2 separate regions of the Homo sapiens genome follow, and region 1 is linked to region 2. The links are contacts of gene promoters, found by promoter capture Hi-C in human tissues and cell types (Jung and others, 2019). All regions are on one chromosome and are shown on one strand. The core of a region is centred on a gene start or on the middle of the fragment in contact, and the rest is flanking DNA. Distances in the headings are between cores, read along the strand shown.

What was found. The method cuts DNA at HindIII sites, captures the fragments that hold promoters and counts their contacts. A contact is called where the count stands out against the background at its distance.
Region 1: a contact is called between a fragment that was not itself captured here and the fragment with the promoter of CCPG1 in region 2, in 1 of the 25 tissues and cell types used here (mesendoderm cells).

What each region holds. Positions count from the first base shown.
Region 1 is chr15:55,793,811-55,797,150 of GRCh38, reverse strand. No RefSeq gene overlaps it. Among named protein-coding and RNA genes, the nearest start is that of PRTG, 52 kb to the right of the region's middle. The HindIII fragment of the contact is 6,112 bases long and covers 1-3,340 here.
Region 2 is chr15:55,407,109-55,410,375 of GRCh38, reverse strand. CCPG1 (cell cycle progression 1) reads left to right here and starts at 2,017. Exons shown (of 9, transcript NM_001204450.2): 1 at 2,017-2,155. It overlaps PIERCE2 (piercer of microtubule wall 2), which reads right to left and starts at 1,881. Exons shown (of 2, transcript NM_001198784.2): 1 at 1,590-1,881. The coding sequence starts at 1,607. All of the region lies in intron 8 of DNAAF4-CCPG1 (DNAAF4-CCPG1 readthrough (NMD candidate)), which reads left to right. RefSeq lists enhancers at 1,638-1,837, 1,888-2,157, 2,518-2,797. The HindIII fragment of the contact is 18,708 bases long and covers 1-3,267 here.

The DNA of each region.
Region 1 (3,340 bases), core at 426-2,925, 390 kb before region 2:
CCCAGCCATGTTATCTCATTTCTTAGATGAGGATACAGGTTCAGAGTACCTTGTCCTGAGTCACACTGCTTCTAGGTAATGGAAAGATAACTGAAATCTAGCTCTGTCTGATCCAAACCCTGGTTTTTTTTGTTTTTGTTTTTAAATTCCATGTGAGTTGAAGTTGAGTGCTGCAGAAATGTAAAATGTTGTTAATCATTTCTACAACATTTGCTGTGTGCGAGACACTGTGTTAAGTTTGGGGGTGGGGGTGCTGAATGGGGTGGGTAGAGAGAGAGTGACTGCCTGCACCTAGAGAAATGAATTGGGAAAACAGGTGCTGGGGATGTGCCAAAGGAAGCAACAATGGCACCCAAGGATGATTCACAATGTGGGGCCTGAGGTGAAAAAGGAGCAGGCAGTGTTGTTCCTAGGGTTGGATCTATGCCAGAAGATTATTGCAGATGAAACTCAGAGCAGCCTGAAGTAGGGGAAGGTAATTCTCCCTCTCTCATGCTGCACAGCTCAAAACTTTGTGAAAAGTTCAGGTAAACATTGGCTGAGAAGACTGCAAAACATTGCGATGTAGACCAGCTGGAGTGAATTTTACACCCGGTGAATGTTTTCTTGGCCACATTCTCTCCAAGCAGTGGAGTTCTCGAGAGCATGTCTTTGGCAGTGGGACCTGGCTTCACATCTCAGTTTCCACCTACTTGCTATGTGACCTTGCATCTCAGTGTCCTTACCTAGCAATAACTGCTGCATAGGATTATTGTAAGGATGGAATAAGATCATTTACAAGATGTGTGGAGCACAATGCTGGCATGATTTAAACATTATACACATATGTCCTCTAGGATTTTACATTCTTAGTTATCCATCCCCCCTGGCATTTTCAAACTATCTCTAACTTCCTCCCTTCAGCCTGAAACCATGTCCTGGTCTCTCTTACTTTATTTTTATTTTTTCATTTTTTTGAGACAGAGTTTCACTCTTGTTGCCCGGGCTTGAGTGCAATGGCACGATCTTAGCTCACTGCAACCTCTGCCTCCTGGGTTCAAGTAGTTCTACCTCAGCCTCTCAAGTAGCTGGGATTATAGGCATGCGCCACCACACCTGGCTAATTTTGTATTTTTAGTAGAGACAGGGTTTCACCACGTAGCCCAGGCTGATCTCTAACTCCTGCTGGTCTTACTTAAAAACAAACAAACAAACAAACAAAAAACTCCCCTCAACCTATTTGTGGAGCCACCCTCCCAGTTCTGCTCATGGAACTTCCAATCCTCTCAAAAGAGGATTCACAGGTTGCCAATTCCAAAGAGTAGGGACCATGTCTGTTTTGTATATTTCAGTATCTCCAGTGCCTAGCCTAGTGCTTGGCATAATCATAGTTGACATTCAATTATTTGTTGAATAAATGACTGTCTCCATTTCCTCATCATACTTTCCCAATTTTTGTCCTTGCAGTCTGGCTTCTGCTCTTACCACTCTTTCAAAGTTGCATTCCCACACAACCTCTAACTTGATCACCAAAGCTGGAGGCTGTTTCTCCATTCTCTTCTCTCAGAATTCTATATAGTCAATGCAATTCTTTAAAACAGGATTCCACTGTGCAGTATTTGGTAAACTCAAATGTACTCCAAGGGATATAGACAAGGTTAGATTCTCCAGTTGCTTAGTTATCTACTTAGTTAGTAGTATCCTTTGAAGTCTTTCGGGGTCACTTCTCTTTGATGGGGGTGAGTGGCATAAGACAGTGAACATCCTGGGAGGTACCTTCCCTGATCTAGACAGCTGGAAACAATCTCTCCCTCCTCTGACATGCTTTACTAAGCTTTGTCTATACTTCTCCAATGAAACTATTTCTTCCCACTTCAAGTAATGGTTATTTATAGCCCTGTCTGTGTCACACCTAACCCACCCTGTGTATGCCCTTTGAGGGCAGGAAGCAGGCTTTTCCTCATCCTCCCCTTCTAGCTCAGCCTCTGGCACATGCAAAAGGCCTTACAAATGGACCAACTGAAAGAACTAATAGTGGAAAGAAGAAAATACCTTGAGTAGTCATGGAGTTCCTGCCCACAGAGAGTTTTAGAACAGCCTCTCTCATTTGTGTTAAAATTGGTAAAGCCCTGCAATGGACTAGCCCTGGCCTGGATAGAGTAGGAAGGATAAAACAGAGACTAACCCTGGGAGCACAGTCCTTACTTATAGTCCAATTGGGACAACCAGGGGTGCATGCAAAAAGGAAGCAGCAATTCAAAAATGCGAGAAAAAATGCAAGAAATATCATGAGCAACATGTAAGGAACAAACACCTATTCAAATTAATATTCATTGGGTAGTATTATATCTATGTGCCAGCAGTGCATTATAGGACTAAAAGGAGCTAAGAGGAAAATCCCTCAGGTTGCAGGGATGAGGGGTGGTTTCAAAAAAGGGGCTAAAAAGTATGCTGAATACTGTTGATTCTTTGGTTTAATTTGCCAGAGAACTAGGTAGGTATGTCGTTGCATTAAGTCCAGTCTACAGACTGCAGGCACTGAGCACAGCCCTCTTTAAAGCCCAGATGTTTCCAATGCAATAGAGTGATTAAAAGTCTTGTTCTAGGTCAGTAAGACTTGGGTTTGAGTCCTGACTCTATCCCTGTGATTTTGGCAGATCACCCTGATGCAAGAGGTGGGTTCCCATGGTCTTGGGCAGCTCCACCCTTATGGCTCTACAGGGTACAGCCTCCTTCCCACCTGCTTTCACAGGCTGGCGCTGAGTGTCTGTGGCTTTTCCAGGTTCACGGTGCAAGCTGTCAGTGGATCTACCATTCTGGAGTCTGGCGGATGGTGGCCTGCTTCTCACAGCCCTACTAGGCAGTGGCCCAGTAGAGACTCTGCATGGTGGCTCTGACCCCACATTTCCCTTCCACATTGCCTTAGTAGAGGTTCTCCACGAGGGCCCCACCCCTGCAGCAAACTTCTGCCTGGGCATCCAGGCATTTCCATACATCTTCTGAAATCTAGGCAGAGGTTCCCAAACCCCAGTTCTTGACTTCTGTGCACTCGCAGACTCAATGGCACATGGACGCTGCCAAGGCTTGGGGCTTGCACACTCTGAAGCTACAGGCTGAGCTCTAAGTTGGCCCCTTTCAGCCATGGCTGGAGCAGCTGGGACACAGGGCACCAAGTCCCTAGACTGCACACAGCACAGGGACCCTGGGCCTAGCCAGTCTCTTTGCCAAAACATAACAAGAGTCGCCTTTGCTTCAGTTCTCAAAAAGTTACTAATCTCCATCTGAGACCACTTCAGCCTGGACCTTATTGTCCATATCGCTATCAGGCTTTTGGTCAAAGCCATTCAACAAGTCTCTAGGA
Region 2 (3,267 bases), core at 768-3,267:
GCATGAGCCACCGCGCCCAGCTGAGAACTCTTCTTGTTATCAAATGACCCTCTTTACTACTGGTTCTAGAATTTCGTTCAGCTTTGGCTCAAAACATAATGCAGAAAACGAAATCTAGTAAAAACAGAAGACAAATTAGCTGATAAACTTTGTTGGCATAATTAGTACCATAAAATCTGGAAAAGCTAAATCTTAAATTAAAAATTTTTTAGATTTCCAGGATAATTCACAAATGTTTATAGATTCAGAAACAAAAGGTCCATTGCTTTATACTTTACATCATAGACAACCACTGCAGTTTTCTAATATGGGTTTCACCTTCTTCAAACCTGATATTCTTAAAATGTGGAGTTCAAACTGACTATAGTTAAGAACGAAACAAATAGCCAATACAAAGAATAATAAAAGGATGAGTTCAAATTATCTGCCACATGTCATCAACTTTTATTAAATGATAAAAAGGTTAATTAAAATTGTAAATGATTTTTCAGAAGAAATTACATCTTAAAATTGGCCTGTGAAAGTGGCTTGAAAGGTATAAAAATCTACCAGTAGCTGGTATTAGCTTTCTTAGTAATTTAATTTTCAGTTAGAGAAAGCCAGACCACTTTGACCTTTCGAAGTCCTTTGGTATAGATACATATACATTTAAAAAGATAAATGAAAACAAGCCATTGATTAATAATGCCCATCGCAGAAGCTGTAATTATAAAATTAAGATTTTTTGATGTCACTGTTGATGTTGAATATAGTTAATAGAAAAGCAAAAATAAAAAATAAAAAAGGTCTAATTTTGAGGCACTCTTTTGTCTCTGCTCAGGTCCACCGTCTTCCTTGCTAATGTTTACGTTTATTATTAATTTTTCCATTTATTTATTTACTTTTACCACAATTAGGGGACAGAGAATGAAACCTAAACTTTTTATTGCTTCTGTAAAGAGTGAATATAAATGTAAGATTTTTTTTTTTTGAGACGGAGTTTTGCTCTTGTTGCCCAGGCTGCAGTTCAGTGGCGCAATCTCGGCTCACTGCAACCTCTGCCTCCCAGGTTCAAGCAATTCTGCTGTCTCAGCCTCCCAAGTAGCTGGGATTACAGGCCCGCGCCACCTCTCCTGGCTAATTTTTTGTATTTAGTAGAGACGGAGTTTCACCATGTAGGTCAGGCTGGTCTCGAACTCCTGACCTCAGGTGATCCACCCGCTTCGGCCTCCCAAATTGCTGGGATTACAGGCGTTGAGCCCCGGCGCCCGGCCACCAAATCCTTTTTCAAAACAACTCCCTTCTTTGACACAGTGCAATTTAAATAAGTATACAATTAACAAAGTACGTTTTTCTTGTTCAAAACCATCACTGAACAGTTTGCAACAGTAGGGTATGAATGCATACAATCTCGATGGTCTTTACACCTTCAGAGGCTATTCGGACTTAAGGAAACGTGCATTTACAAGTGTAAATGTAAAAGCTCAGTAGTTGCCTTGTAAAGTGCTTTTCGGGGTTGTGGGGTTGGGGGTGGTAGGAGTAGGTGGTGCCTCAAATTATACTAGCGAATACCAACATTCCCAAACATCTAGCCCTCTGCCTAAACTCACCCGGTTGCGGTCTGTCATTTTCGCTCTTCTTTGTTAATTTTTTCGGCAAAGTCAGTTTTCATGCAGCAGATGGCAAGAAAGCCGGTGAACGCCTAGGGACGTGGCCTTTTAACCGCACCCAATTAAAGCAGCAAACAGAAGATGAATAGCTGGGTGGATCAGTATGTGTAAACCTATCCGTTTAATCCGGGGAGCTGTTTTCCCGGGTGAAACCACGAATTCTTTCTGGAGGTTGCAACTCGTAACCATAGCAACTGGAAGTGGTCGCCGGCTCCCGGATGTTGTGGGGATCTGCGGCCGCCTGGCCCAGCTTCCCGCAGCCGCCCGGCGGCGGCCTGCGCTCCACTTCGGGAGTGGTAGTTCTTCTCTTCACCGCTGCCGGGCAGGAGGCGCAGGCGGGACTACGCGTCACGGCATGCACTGCGGCGCCCAGCCGGTCACCGCCTGCCGGCTGCAGACGCCTGCGAGCAGGTTGTTTTTATAAGAGGCGTCATTGGCGCCCGAGCTGTGACCGCCGCCACTGGGGCAGCCAGCACAATCGGGCGGAGGTGGCGCTGCCCCTTCAGGTACTGTACTAGGCGGGCTTAGACCCCGGGAGGGGGTTTGTGCCGACTGTCTGAGTCCCTGGCCGACACGCTCGGCTCAGTAGAGGAGCAGTGGCGGGGTCCGCCTCCTAGGCTGGGGCTGCTCGGGCGGGGACTTGACGCCTGGTGTCAGCGGCCGCACGGGCGACCTCCTCGGGCCGTGCGCGAGTGCACAGCTCCGGAGGCCCGAGCCGACCCTGGGGCGTCCGGTCCGGTGGTCTTGCAGCCTCCAAACCCCGAGTGCTATACCGAACTGCGCGCCAAGGGTGGGAGAGCTGACGGCCTGGGCCACCCTTCTTCCTTCACTGGGCAGGCTTTGAGGTGCTTGTCGGTCTGGACTGATGAAAATCCATATGGTAAGATGTTATGTGCGTCACCCTGCCGGGTTTAATGCCAGCCTGTCTTTTGATGACATTTGAGCCCCCGTGATGTCAGGAATAGAAAGATTAAATATTAAATAATGCCCGGAGACTTCCGCTAGCACGCCAGCCTGATGATGATCAAATACCTCTCCATATCCTTCTCCAGTTCCAGTGGCCTCCTTTAGCTTTGGTCTCCCTAATCGATTTGTCCTCATTAGCAGCTGTCCCATGCAGTGCCTTGTACGCGTTGTTTATGTTTAGCACTATTGGGAGCGCCAAGTAAGGTATTTTATTGAGTGGTGAAGTTTGCACTGTTCTGCTCTACTTTTATTGAAAAACACAGTTGGGCATTCTTGTAGTTAGAATAGCTAACTATATAGTACTATGAATTTTAGATTTGTCTCCTCCAATCTACAGGATAGTGCTTGAAATATCGCTATTACTGCATCGTATCTTTTAAGATTAGAATCATATTGGGTCCCACACGTCTCAGGGGATATTTATCACACACATCCAGTGTGAATGGTTTACTTTTATTTTCTGAGTTCAGGTCATATAGCAGAAGATGGAGATGGTGAGGGTATTATTTTAATTCATATTTTTTTTTTTTTTGAGAGAGGGTTTCGCTCTTGTTGCCCAGGCTGGAGTGCAGTGGCGCGATCTCGGCTCACTGCAACCTCTGCCTTCCAGTTTCAAACGATTCTCCTGCCTCAGCCTCCCGAGTATCTGGGA